4 separate regions of the Homo sapiens genome follow, and regions 1, 3 and 4 are each linked to region 2. Evidence: promoter capture Hi-C in human tissues and cell types (Jung and others, 2019). All regions are on one chromosome and are shown on one strand. The core of a region is centred on a gene start or on the middle of the fragment in contact, and the rest is flanking DNA. Distances in the headings are between cores, read along the strand shown. Region 1 has its middle 39 kb from the start of ZNF732. Region 2 holds the start of ZNF732 (zinc finger protein 732). Region 3 holds the start of MIR571 (microRNA 571). Region 4 overlaps ZNF141 (zinc finger protein 141).

What was found. The method cuts DNA at HindIII sites, captures the fragments that hold promoters and counts their contacts. A contact is called where the count stands out against the background at its distance.
Region 1: a fragment that was not itself captured here is called in contact with the fragment with the promoter of ZNF732 in region 2 in 1 of the 25 tissues and cell types used here (dorsolateral prefrontal cortex).
Region 3: a fragment that was not itself captured here is called in contact with the fragment with the promoter of ZNF732 in region 2 in 2 of the 25 tissues and cell types used here (dorsolateral prefrontal cortex and spleen).
Region 4: a fragment that was not itself captured here is called in contact with the fragment with the promoter of ZNF732 in region 2 in 10 of the 25 tissues and cell types used here (adrenal gland, bladder, dorsolateral prefrontal cortex and 7 more).

The regions. Positions count from the first base shown.
Region 1 is chr4:264,875-268,223 of GRCh38, reverse strand. No RefSeq gene overlaps it. Among named protein-coding and RNA genes, the nearest start is that of ZNF732, 39 kb to the left of the region's middle. The HindIII fragment of the contact is 8,269 bases long and covers 1-3,349 here.
Region 2 is chr4:303,768-306,790 of GRCh38, reverse strand. It overlaps ZNF732 (zinc finger protein 732), which reads left to right and starts at 1,317. Exons shown (of 4, transcript NM_001137608.3): 1 at 1,317-1,483. The coding sequence starts at 1,481. The HindIII fragment of the contact is 17,523 bases long and covers 1-3,023 here.
Region 3 is chr4:348,147-351,465 of GRCh38, reverse strand. The region is part of intron 3 of ZNF141 (zinc finger protein 141); the gene reads right to left. It overlaps MIR571 (microRNA 571), which reads right to left and starts at 1,309; the gene lies at 1,214-1,309. The HindIII fragment of the contact is 5,531 bases long and covers 1-3,319 here.
Region 4 is chr4:365,027-368,403 of GRCh38, reverse strand. The region is part of intron 3 of ZNF141 (zinc finger protein 141); the gene reads right to left. Among named protein-coding and RNA genes, the nearest start is that of MIR571, 17 kb to the right of the region's middle. The HindIII fragment of the contact is 4,034 bases long and covers 1-3,377 here.

The sequences.
Region 1 (3,349 bases), core at 716-3,215, 39 kb after region 2:
TTTTACCAATTGTACATTTATTTAATAATAAAATGCTGTAAATTTTAAAATTGTCTTTTAAGATCATGTGTGAACTTAATTTTTTTTTTTTGAGACGGAGTCTCAATCTATTGCCCAGCCTGGAGTGCAGTGGCACAATCTTGGCTCACTGCAACCTCCGCCTCCCAGGTTCAAGTGATTCTCTTGCCTCAGCCTCCTGAGTAGCTGGGATTACAGACACACACCACCAGGCCTGGCCACATTTTGTATTTTTAGTAGAGACAGGGTTTCAGCATATTGACCAGGCTGGTCTTGAGCTCCTGACCTGGTGATCTACCCGCCTCAGTTTCTCAAAGTGCTGGGATTCCACGCGTGAGCCATCGCGCCTGGCCTTAATTTTTTAAATAAAATTATTAATGTGTAGAAATTATTGTGCCTTGAATGATGTGTTATGCCACCAACTTTCACCTATTCCACCTTACTCAAGGGTGTAGGTAAGAGATGCTAACAATGTACTATCTGATAACATAGCTGAATGACATTTCTAGTCTATTTTTCCAATGGCTTTAAACAGCAAGTAAACTGAATATTGTTCCCATGTTGCATTTTTATTCTTATTTAAATTTTTAAAAAGTTTTTGTGGGTACATAACTATGTATATATTTATGGTATATATGGGTTATTTTGATACAGGCATACAATATATAAATGACAGAGTAAATGAGTTATTCATTATCTTAAGCATTTATCTTTTTTTTTTCTTTTTCTTTTTCTTGGGACAGAGTTTCGTTCTTGTTGCCCAGGCCAGAGTGCAATGGTGCGATCTTGGCTCACTGCAACCTCCACCTCCCAGGTTCAAGCAATTCTCCTAAATCAGTCTCCTGAGTAGCTGGGATCACAGGCATGTGCCACCATGCCTGGCTAATTCCCCCCCCCCCCCCCCAGACGGAGTCTCGCTGTCACCCAGGCTGGAGTGCAGTGGCGTGATCTTGGCTCACTGCAGACTCCGCCCCCCAGGGTTCACACCATTCTCCTGCCTCAGCCTCCCAAGTAGCTGGGACTACAGGCGCCTGCCACCTCGCCTGGCTAATTTTTTGTATTTTTAGTAGAGACGGGGTTTCACCGTGTTAGCCAGGATGGTCTCGATCTCCTGACCTCGTGATCTGCCTGCCTCAGCCTCCCAAAGTGCTGGGATTACAGGTGTGAGCCACTGCGCCTGGCAACCTGGCTAATTTTGTATTTTTAGTAGAGTTGGGGTTTCTCCAGCATTTATCTTTTATATTACCCACAATCTAATTATACACTTCAATTATTTTTAAATGTACAATTTTTTCTACTACAGGTCATTTTATGATTGTAATAAGTATATCAGAGTATAATTATAATTCATACATTCCTGAGTCCTGAATGATTTTCAAAAATGTTTCATATTTATCTTTGGACATGCATCATGTTCTCCTGTAAACATACAGACTTAGTTTTAATTTACATGGAGTTAAATATATAAATGTTGTGCTCTAAAGATAAACCTTGGGTGTAAGAAAATTATGAAGCAAGCAATTGTGTTTGCATGAGAGTTTGTACCTATTTTCCGAAGAAAATAGCAATATTGGAACAAAGAAGTTTCTATTAATACTGTGGATAATTTACTGGAAATCTAGAAACCTAAAACATTTTGAATTAAAATCTATGTTTTCTTATTTTTATGTAATTACTGTAAAATCTAATGGATCATTTTTGAGAATCTCCCTGTAAAAAGTCTCTGTTTTAATGTGGTGCTCATGCTAGAGGTATAATTTTCTTGTTTCTCATTCTTTTTTTTTAACTCCATAAAGTATGTGGGCTGGTCAGAAATTATAAAATTTTTTTAAAAAGTTAGTGCACAGAAAATACTTTTTAGATGTAATTTTACAATGTGTATAGTTATATTTTATTGGAACATTTAATTTTCCTTATATTTCTTTTTTTGTTTTTTGAGACAGTCTCACTCTGTCACCAGGCTGAAGTGCAATGGCATGATCTTGGCTCAGCGCAACCTCCGCCTCTTGGGTTGAAGCGATTCTCCTGCCCCAGCCTCCCAAGTAGGTGGGACTACAGGTGCACACCACCATACCTAGCTAATTTTTGTAGTTTTAGTAGAGACAGGGTTTCACCGTGTTGCCAGGATGGTCTTGATCTCTTGACCTGGTGATCCACCTACCTCGGCCTCCAAAAGTGCTGGGATTACAGGCATCCGCCACTGCACCTGGCCTCTGTTTTTATTTTCTAATTGTCTTTAGTTTTCTGATGTCTTCATGTGTTTATCCCCAGCTATGTATGCTTCACTGCTCTTCTTTGTGTTATGGCTACAGTTTCCTCACTGTTCTCTTCATGCCATGTAATTTCACTTGGACTTTCTAGGCTCTGATGAGAAGTTTGGAATTTTTAATGTATATTGTTTTTAACTGGCGTGTTTGAGATTATAGCTTATCAATGCAACATTCAGATCATGTAATTGAGGTAAGACTAATTCACTGTCCACATGTAAGAGGATTAAGTGAGCACCGTTTTTCTCTTTGTAAAAGAAAAATTGTATGAGAATCTAACACAAAGTGTGTTAAATGTAACATACCTTAATATATATTAAAGCATAAATATAAGTTGGTTGCAGATTGTAAGCACCATATGAAGAAACACATCAGAAGTTTGAAATCTCTTAAAATATATCTTTGAAATAAAATTTTTAAGACTTAATGGTAGATGAAGAATTTTACATATAATTTTCTATGACATAGCAAAACTTATTTTTTATGCAGAATCTTCTATTTTTGACTAAATGTTAAGTGTTGCAAAAATAATAGAATGATCTGTGTAGATTCAAAATCTGCAATGATCTTTTTTTGTTGAGATTCGTATTGCAATCTTGAGTTTGAAATTTGTTTTGGTGGATGCAGTTCATGGGGTACAGTTTTTATTTTTAGTCATCTAACTTTATCCAAGTTCTTGGTCACCTTCTCTAGAAAAAATTAGGCGATTATGGCAGCTATTGAATTCAAACATTCATTAATTCCATTAATGTAATTCAGCATATATAAGGTCCTCAGCTATTGTTTTCTTGAGAGAAACAATTCAGCCCAGAGACAATTAGTGAAGCAAGCAGAGAGTTCATTAAAGGAAAATAAAGAACACACCAAAGGAGGAGTGGATTGGCTCAGCTGGAAACAGCCCTGAGATTTACATGTTGCAGTTTTTATTATTATAGACTTAAAAAAAATTCCCACCTCTGTCTTAAGTGTCTGCCTTTGTCTTTGTGGAGTTTCCTGCTTCCTGGTAAATCTCTTCTTTTATCCTCACTGAGTTTCTTCCCAGGTCTATGAGATGCTTCCTTACT
Region 2 (3,023 bases), core at 68-2,567:
CAACCTAAATGTCATTAACTTGACCCAGCTCCTTATAATGTTACCTAACATGACATAAGTATTTTGGTTTTAGCTTCACCCTTTCCACCTGCTGTGGGTTTCGCTTGGGCACTCATGGGTAATAACCAAGACGGAGTCACTGTGGTCAATCCCAGGCATGCTCAGATGCAACACTGTTATAGGGGAACTTTACCCCTCCCATTTGGGCAGAGCCCACAGAAGACTTCCTTGTTCTTGCCATATAAACTCAGCCCCATTTCTGGCACCCTGCTTTCATGTCCCCTCTTACTGCTGAGAGCTTTCCCTATGCTTAATAAATCCTATTCTGCTTTACTCACTCTCTGGTGTCTGTATGTCTTATTCTTCCTGGTCATGGGAAGAGAGCCCAGACGTGGTTGAACTGAGGAGACCACCACACTGGTACCAAACAGCAAGGGGGAGACAGTGATCTTCACGTGGACACTCTCAGCTTGCAGCCCCTGCTCTCTCTAGGGGCACTGTCCTACCCATCCTTCATCCTGAGGAGAAAAGTTGGTAGAGAGGCTGGTCCCTTACTTCCAGTAGAAAAGACGTGTTCAGGCCCTCACTTTCTTGAGGTCAGAGCCCTCATGGCTGTACTCGATGTGGCAGCCACCAGACATATGTAGCTACTGAGTACCTGGAATGTGGCTGGTTTGAGGTAAAATGTGCTGCAAACATAAAATACACAGTGAGTTTAGACGAATTAAATCAGAAATATACTTTATTTCTAATTATATATTGATCACATATTGAAACAATATTTTGGATACAATAGGTTAAAATATAAACAATTTCACTTGTTTCTTTTTATTATTTTTGATGTGGCTAATAAAAAATTGAAAATTCACAAATAGCTAACATTTTATTTTTTAAAGGATTGCTTCCCCCTTAAAATCCTACTCAAAAGACCAGAGGACAGAGAGGTTATGAAATCTAAAATATTAAAATAATTGTCATTATATTGTTTCCATTTGTGAACAAGTGTGTGTCTGTGTGTGTGCGCGCGCGTACGTACACAATTTATAAATGGGCGTAACCTTACACACCAGAAGGTTAAAAATGAACCCCCAACAGAGCCAAGCCTAGCACAGAAAGCCCTGACTGAAAATACCTGGAGGCACGAGTCTGTCTCTCTTGCCTCATTAAGTGCACTGTGTGGTGGCAAGTTCTGTCACTCAAATTCTGAGCGTGGGGAGCTTGGTATCTTATCCAATCAGAGCGCTGGATTGAGAACTGCCCAATCAGGCGCGCAGCCGGAGAGGAGGGGGCGGCATCCGGGATCTGGCGCGGCTTTTGCCTTTTGCGCCAGCGTGAGCTCGGTTAGGGTCTCCACGGCCGTGCTTTCACCCCTCAGGGAGGCGTCGGTGATTCGGTCACAGCCTCAGCCTCCGTCGCTCTGTGACCTGCGGGTATTGGATGATTCGTAGCTGAGACTCCGCTACACCCCTGAAGTGGGGAAATGGTGAGTGTGGGGGCAGGGCGTCCCAAGGCTGGGGAGGCCTCATCCGAACCGGCGGGAAATGGCGGCGGCGGGACGGAGTCTGCGAACGGAGTCTCCGCTGCCGCCGCTCAGCCCTCAGTCCTTGGTCCCTTCCGGTGAGGGACCCGGGTTCATGTCGGTCCCCGCAAGGCGGCTTTGGCCCAGCCTGCAGCCCTACTTGTGCAGCTCTGCGCCCGCAGCCCCGCACCTTCCCTGGGCTGTGGGGTGAGGAGGAGCTCATCGGGAAAACGCCTGCGTGGCGTGCGAGGTGCCCGCCTGGGAGGAGCTGTGGTCCGGTCGTCGAGTCCCTACTTTACCCTGTTCGGAATAAGATCGAGGCCCTATCAAAACATAGAGTTCATGTGAGCAAATGGGGACTAATTAATGGGACAGCCCCGGGCATGGCTTGTGGTTTGGGGGCTGCCAGCGGGTCTTGAAGGAAAAGCTTTTGTGAGGTGTGTGAGGAAGCGAAGCAAATCACCCGCCCGCTCCAACTTGCCCACCAGTCCCCTTGCCCTGTGCGCCTCCTCCGCGTGGCTGTTCCTGAGTGGCATCTTTTAGAATACGCTGGTGTGGGCGCGCACAGCGCTTCGCTGAGTTCTGTGAGTAGTTCTGCCACATTATTGAACTTGAGGAGGGTGTGGGCGCCCCTGGTTTGTAGGCAGGCGTTCAGAAATGAAGACGGGTGTCCAGAGGCAGGGACTGCCGTCTGCAGGGGGGGGGCAGCTGCGGGAAGAGCGCTGAGCTTGTGGGGTCTTCGCTGACTCTGGGTGGTGTCGTTAGTGAGTTGCTGGACACCGCGTTGGGGTTGGAGCATTGACTGATGTTGAGCAAACTCCGCACGTTTTCTGTCAGAAGAAAGACATGGCTGAGCCTGGGCTGGAGAAAGATGCCTGGTGTCTGCGGGAGGCGCGGCCGGGTTCTGCACATGTGCTGTCCCGCTGGGCACTGTCCTTTTCCTCCAGGTCTCCTTCCGGGGAGAGAAGGGACTGGGAACTTAGAGGAAAGGAGTTCTGAGAAACATCCCTTCCCTGCACCCTGCTGCCAGCCCCCACTTAATGCTAACCCACTCCCGAGGACGCTCACTGGCCATTCGCATTGCCACACTCCTCCCAGGACAGGGTTCTACCCTCAGGAATTGTGCCCGTGACAGCTTTGCTCCTAGGGTATTCTGCCAATAACACACACAGTGCCAGGAAGACTCCTGGCTCATTTCAACCCCAGACACTGGATCTATAGCAGGAACCTGTTTCCTTCCCCCACCCAGGCTTCTGGACCACCTGATCCTAATCTCCTCTGCCTTTATGGACACATGAATCAGTCAGATGGTAACCCTGCCTAGACCTGCACTTGTAGCACAAACTAGTCTTTTATTTAGTCAGTCCTGCCCTGTCCCCACCATGACTCTTGATAGCTCCTTTCTCTCTTCTGCTTTTTTCTTCCTCACAAATCTTATTTCCTGTGCACACAGTGTGCCCAAGTCCATCCCTCACTTGCCTGCGAGAATTCAGACGTTAGTGAC
Region 3 (3,319 bases), core at 420-2,919, 44 kb before region 2:
TCATGAGGTCAGGAGACCACCTGGCTAACATGGTAAAACCCCGCCCCTACTAAAAATTAAAAAAATTAGCCAGGCTTGGTGGCAGGCACCTGTAGTCCCAGCTACTCGGGAGGCTGAGGCAGGAGAATAAGTTGAACCTGGGAGGCGGACATTGCAGTGAGCCGAGATCGCGCCACTGTACTCCAGCCTGAGTGGCAGAGCGAGACTCTGTCTCAAAAAAAAAAAAAAAGGTTTAACTGGCTCATAGTTCTGAAGGCTGTACAGGAAGCACAGCAGCTTCTACTTTTGGGGAGGCCTCAGAAAGCTTCCAGTCACGGCACAAAGCAAAGGGAGAGTGAGTCATCTCACACAGTGGGAACAGGAGCAAGACAAGAGTGAGAGGGGAGGTGCCACATGCTTTTAAAAAATAAGATCTCAGGCCGGGCGCGGTGGCTCACGCCTGTAATCCCAGCACTTTGGGAGGCTGAGGTGGACGGATCATGAGGTCAGGAGATCCAAACCATCCTGGCTAACATGGTGAAACCCCGTCTCTACTAAAAAAAAAAAAAAGTACAAAAAATTAGCCGGGCATGGTGGCAAGCACCTGTAATCCCAGCTACTCTGGAGGTTGAGGCAGGAGAATGGCATGAACCCGTGAGGTGGAGCTTGCGGTGAGCCGAGATCATGCCACTGCACTCCAGCCTGAGCCACAGAGCGAGACTCCATCTCAAAAAATAAATAAATAAAAAATAAGATCTCGGGAGAACTCACTCACTATGGCAAAGACAGTACCAAAGGGGCTGGTACTAAACTATTCATGAAAAGCCAACCCTACGATCCAATCATCTCCCTCAAGGCCCCACCTCCAACAATAGGGATTACATTTGACATGAGATTTGAATGGGGACATAGATCCAAACCGTATAATTTACAAAAGTGAAAAAGTGAAAAAATTCAAACATCCTTCAATGAATGAAAGATTTTAAAAGATGTGGCTTATACACGCAATGAAATATTCTTTAGCTTCAAATGAAAATGTCTTGTCAGATGCTACAATAAGGATAAATCCTGAGGCCATTATTTTAGTGAAATAAGACGCTAACAAAGTGACAATGCATGATTCCATTTTTATACAATATTTTAAGTAGTAAGCACATAGAAAGCAGAAGTAGAAAGGTGCTTGCCTATGGTTAGGGTTGTGAAACCTCAGTGGAGCCAGAGATCGAGGGTTATTTAGAATAAGCAGGCCCTCACTCAGATGGCCAACTCAAGAGCCCATAGACATGGCTACAGACAAGGAAATGGCACACTGAGCTTGGTCTTACTGAGGATTCTGAAGCAGTTCTGTAACCTCTCTCAAATTCAATCTCAGCTACAGTCCAGACGTGGTCCTTCCCATCAAGAGACCTGCAGGGAGATACACACCCAGCCATGGCCCTGGAGGCAGGCCTGTATATCCTGGCCTCAGCTGTGCTCCTGAGCCCTGTGACTCAGTTCTAGCCCTCACAGTCACAGTCCATGGCCAGTTGTACACAATCAGGGACCCAAAGAGAAAAGTGTGGAAACTGTTCCCAGGTTGTCAGTAGAAGCCAAACCCATTCATACACCTGGTATTTGGCCCATCATATGCAGACAAACTTCAAAACCCTAGTCTACTGCCTGCCATATAGATTAATATCCTCAAGGAAATCTAATCTCTCCAGGGCCCAGAAATAATCCATGACTGTCCAAATCTCTGGTAATACAATCATCAAAGGCAGACCCCACAGCAGACCCAGCAGCACCCTTGTGACCCAGCTACAACCCTTCTTCTCTGCAACCCCAGAGGTAATCTCATCAGCCTGGGACTCAACAAAAGGAGATCTTTACCTGCCAAAAATAGTTTATACAAACTGTGAAATTTGTCAAATGCAGACACAGGGCTGCTTCAGAGACCACAGCCGGGGACAAGACTTGCAGGCCTGCCTCCAGGGCCACAGCTTCTATCTTAACATGTGACTGGAAGTTTGTATCAAAACAATTAGACAAGGAAAAGGAGAATAAAGCTCTCCAGAGTGGAAAAGAAATAAAAAAGTTACTGTTTGTGGATAATATCATCATGCATATACATAAAACCCTAGAGTAAAATAAGAAAAATTGATTGAACTAATAAATGCATTCATTAAAGTATCAGGATACATAATCAACATATAGATGCTTGTTGGGATTTTTTTTTTTTTGAGACAGGGCCTCACTCTATTGCCCAGGCTTATCTCAAACTCCTGTACTCACATGATACAACTGCCTTGGGCTCTGAAAGTGCTGGGATCACAGAAATGAGCCACTGCACCTGGCACCACATACAAATATTTCTTGCATTTCCATAGAGTAAAAACAAACTTTCCAAAAATAGAAACCATTTCCATTTGCAATAGTATAAAAATAAGAAAGTTAATCAAAATAAATTTAACCAAATGACATAAAAAACATATAGTATTATACACTAAATACAATAAGATATCAATGACAGAAAGTGAAGTAGAAACAAATAAATGGAAACATATTCCATTAGGATAACTAATATTGTCAAAGAATATTATCCAAAGTGATCTATAGATTCAATGTGATCCCTATCAAAATTTTATTGGCATTTTTCACACTAATAGAAAACACAATTGTAAAATTTAGGTGTAACCTTAAACGACTTTTAATAACCTGAGCAATCAATCTTGAGAAAGAACAAAGCTGGGGGCATCATACTTGTTTTTTTTTTTTTTTTGAGATGGAGTCCAGCTCTGTCACCCAGGCTGGAGTGCAGTGGCACAATCTAGGTTCAGTGATCTAGGCTCACTGAAACCTCTGCCTCTTGGGTTCAAGTGATTCTCCTGCCTCAGCTTCCCGAGTAGCTGGGATTACAAGCGCCCACTACCACCCCTAGCTAGTTTTTGTATATTTTTAGTAGAGACAGGGTTTCACCATATTGGCCAGGCTAGTCTTGAACTCCTGATCTCAAGTGATCCGCCCACCTCGGCCTCCCAAGGTGCTGGGATTACAGGTGTGAGCCACCTTGTCTGGCAGGCATCATGCTTTCTAATTTCAGACTTCAAAACAAAGACTGAAATTAAGACATGAAATCTTAAAACTCATGAAGAAAACATATGGAAAAACCTTGTTGATATTGGTCTCGGCAATAACTTTTTTTGAAATGACATCAACAGCACAGCAACAAAATAAAATATAAACAAGTGAGACTGCATCAAAGTAAACAGCCTCTGCACATCAAAGGAAAAAATAAAAACAAAATTTTTAAAAACCCTACAAAATAGAAAAGCATTTGCAAGCCATATCTGATAAGTTAATA
Region 4 (3,377 bases), core at 289-2,788, 61 kb before region 2:
TGGGTGTGGTGGTGCACGTCTGTAATCCCAGCTACTTGGGTGGTTGAGGCACAAGAATTGCTTGAACCTGGGACGTGGAGGTTGCAGTGAGCTGAGATGGTGCCACTGCACTTACATTCTGACTGGGTGACAGAGCAAGACTCTGTCTCAAAAAAAAAATCCTTTAAAAAAATGAAACATTACTGTTTATAAAAAGCAAAAAGTATCCTAATATGTATAATAAAGATAAATGTTGATGGCACTGTGTAACACAAAATAAGTCAGCCATGAAGAGACAAAAATTGCATGAGTCAACTTACATGAGATATATAAAGCAGTCTGACTCTAAAATAGAAAACAGAATTGTTTTTGTAAAGGGCCAGAAAACAGAAAAAGTAGGTAGTTGTTTAATGTGTATGAGTGTTAGCCTTGCAAGATAAACATATTCCAGACAGAGTGCATAAGAATATCGATATAATATGACTAAGGTAAATACTTAAAAGTATTTATGGCACGTGTATACCTATGTAACAAAATCTGGATGTTCTGCACGTGTACCCCAGAACTTAAATTATGACAACAAACTTTGGAAAAAAACAGTATTTAAGATTGTAAAGTTTTGGCTGGGCGCGGTGTAATCTCAGCATGTTGGGAGGCCGTGGCGGACAGATCATGAGGTCAGGAGATCAAGACTAGCCTGGCCAATATGGTGAAACCCCGTCTCTACAAAAAATACAAAAATTAGTTGGGCATGGTGGTGCGCACCTGTAATCCCAGCTACTCAGGAGGCTGAGGCAGAAGAATCGCTTGAACCTGGGAGGCAGAGGTTGCAGTGAACTGATATCGCACCACTGCACTCCAGCCTGGGTGACAGAGTGAGACTCCACATCAAAAAAAAAAAAAAAGATTGTAAAGTTTATGTGTTTTTGACAATTAAAAATAGTATCTAAAATCTGAGATACAGACATATGACAGTTTTTGAACTTATCTTCAAGTCGCAAAAGTGTTTCTCCCACACACAAATATAGATTTACAAATAAATAGAAAGTAAAATTAGGAGGATTTCAATGACTATTCAAAACCACCATTGAACACACATAAACAGAACAAGTAAACAACTCATAAACAATACAAAACCAATACACATACAGATAGACTCATATTGGAAATAGACATATCAGTGATCCATATTTCACTTGTGCTCCAGTCTTACAGTGTACACAGCTGAATGCTGTCATACACAATTATAATATAAAATAAAAACATACTTGTCCTGTTCCAGATCTCAAAAAAAGAAGATTTCTGCTCTTTCCTATCCAGTATGATATCAGCTATTAATCTGTCATATAGGGTCTTTACTGTATTGAGGTACATATGATCTATACCTAATTCGTTGAGTTTCTTAAATCACAAAGCCATGTTCAATTTTGCCAGTGTTGCTTCTACATCCACCAGTTGGCCAGGTTCAGTGGCTCACGCCTGTAATCCTAGCATTTTGGGAGGCTGAGGCAGGAGGATTACCTGAGGTCCAGAGCTCAAGACCAGCCTGGTCAACATGGCGAAACACTGTCTCTCCTAAAAATACAAAAATTAACCAGGTGCAGTCCAGCTACTCCCAGCTACTCAGGAGGCTGAGGCAGGAGAATTGCTTGAACCTAGGAGGCAGAGGTTGTGGTGAGCCAAGATCGCACCAGTGCGCTCCAGTCTGAGCGACAAAGCAGGACTCCATCCCAAATTAAATAAATAAAATAAAATATGTCTAGCAGCAAACCGAATTGAAAAGGTGAACACTCTCTACACTGATAATTATAAAACATTGATAATGCTGGGTGTGGTGGCTCACGCCTGTAATCCTAGCACTTTGGTAGGCCAAGGTGGGCAGATCACGAGGTCAGTAGTTCGAGAGCAGCCTGACCAACATGGTGAAACCCCGTCACTACTAAAAATACAAAAATTAGTGGGGCGGCACACGCCTGTCATCCCAGCTACTCAGGAGGTTGAGACAGGAGAATCATTTGAACCCAGGAGGCAGAGGTTGTGGTGCACTGATATTGTGCCATTGCACTCCAGCCTGGGCAACAGGGTGAGACTTTGTCTCAAAAAGCAAACAACAACAAAATTGATAAAAAACTGAAAAAGACATAAAAATTGAAAGATATTTTTCCTCATGAATTGAAAAAACATTACGAAAGTGGCCATACTACCCAAGGTGATCTACAGATTCAATGCCATCTCTATCAAAATACCAAAGACTTTTTTCACAGCAATGGAATAAACAAGCTTAAAATTAACCAGGACCAACCAAAGACCCCCAAATAGCAAAGGTAATCCTGGGCAAAAAGAATCAAGCTGGAGGCATTACACTACCTGACTCCGAAATATGCTATAAAGCTATAATAAGCAAAACAACATGATACTGGCATAAAAACAGACAGATCAAACTATCCAGTGAGCCCAGTAATAAATTCATGAAACTAGAGGCAAGTGATTTTCAACAAAGATGTCAAGAACACACATTTGGAAAAAGACAGTCTTTTCAATAATTGGTGCTAGGAAAATTGATTACCTACATGATAATCAAAAAATGAAACTAGGCCCCTAGCTCTTACAGTATAAAAAACTCAATCGCAAATAAAGATTTAAATGTGAAACCCAAACCTATAAAGCTATTTGGATAAACATAGAGGAATGCTTTACCACATATTACAGAGCAAAGAATTTTTAAGTAAGACCTCAAAAGCACAGGCAAAAGAAGTAACATTATGCAAATGGGATTACAACAAACTAAAAATGTTTTGCACAGCAAAGAAAACGTTAACAAAGTGAAGAGATAATCTACAGAATGAAAGAAAATATTTGTGAAATATACACAACAAAAGATAAACTTATAGAATATTTAACAAACTTAACAACAAAAATAACACACAATTTAAAAATAGAGCAGAGACCTCCCGTTCCAAGATGGCTGAATAGGAACGGCTCTGGTTTGCAGCTCACAGCGTGACTGACGTAAAAGACGGGTGATTTCTGCACTTCCAACTGAGGTACCTGGTTCATCTCATTGGGACTGGTTGGACAGTGGGTGCAGTGCAGCCCACTGAGGGCAAGCTGAAACAGGGTGGGGCATCACCTCACCTGGGAAGCACAAGGGGTTGGGGGATTTCCCTCTCCTAGCCAAGGGAAGCTGTGACAGACTGTATCTGGAAAATCGGGATCTCCTGCCCAAATACTGTGTTTTTCCAATGGTCTTAGCAAACGGCACACCAGGAGATTATATCCCACGCCTGGCTTGCCAGGTCCCACACCCACAGAGCCTTGCTCACTGCTAGCACAGCAGTCTGAGATTGACCTGCCAGGCAGCAGCCTGGCAGGGGGAGGAGCGTCCACCATTGCTGAGG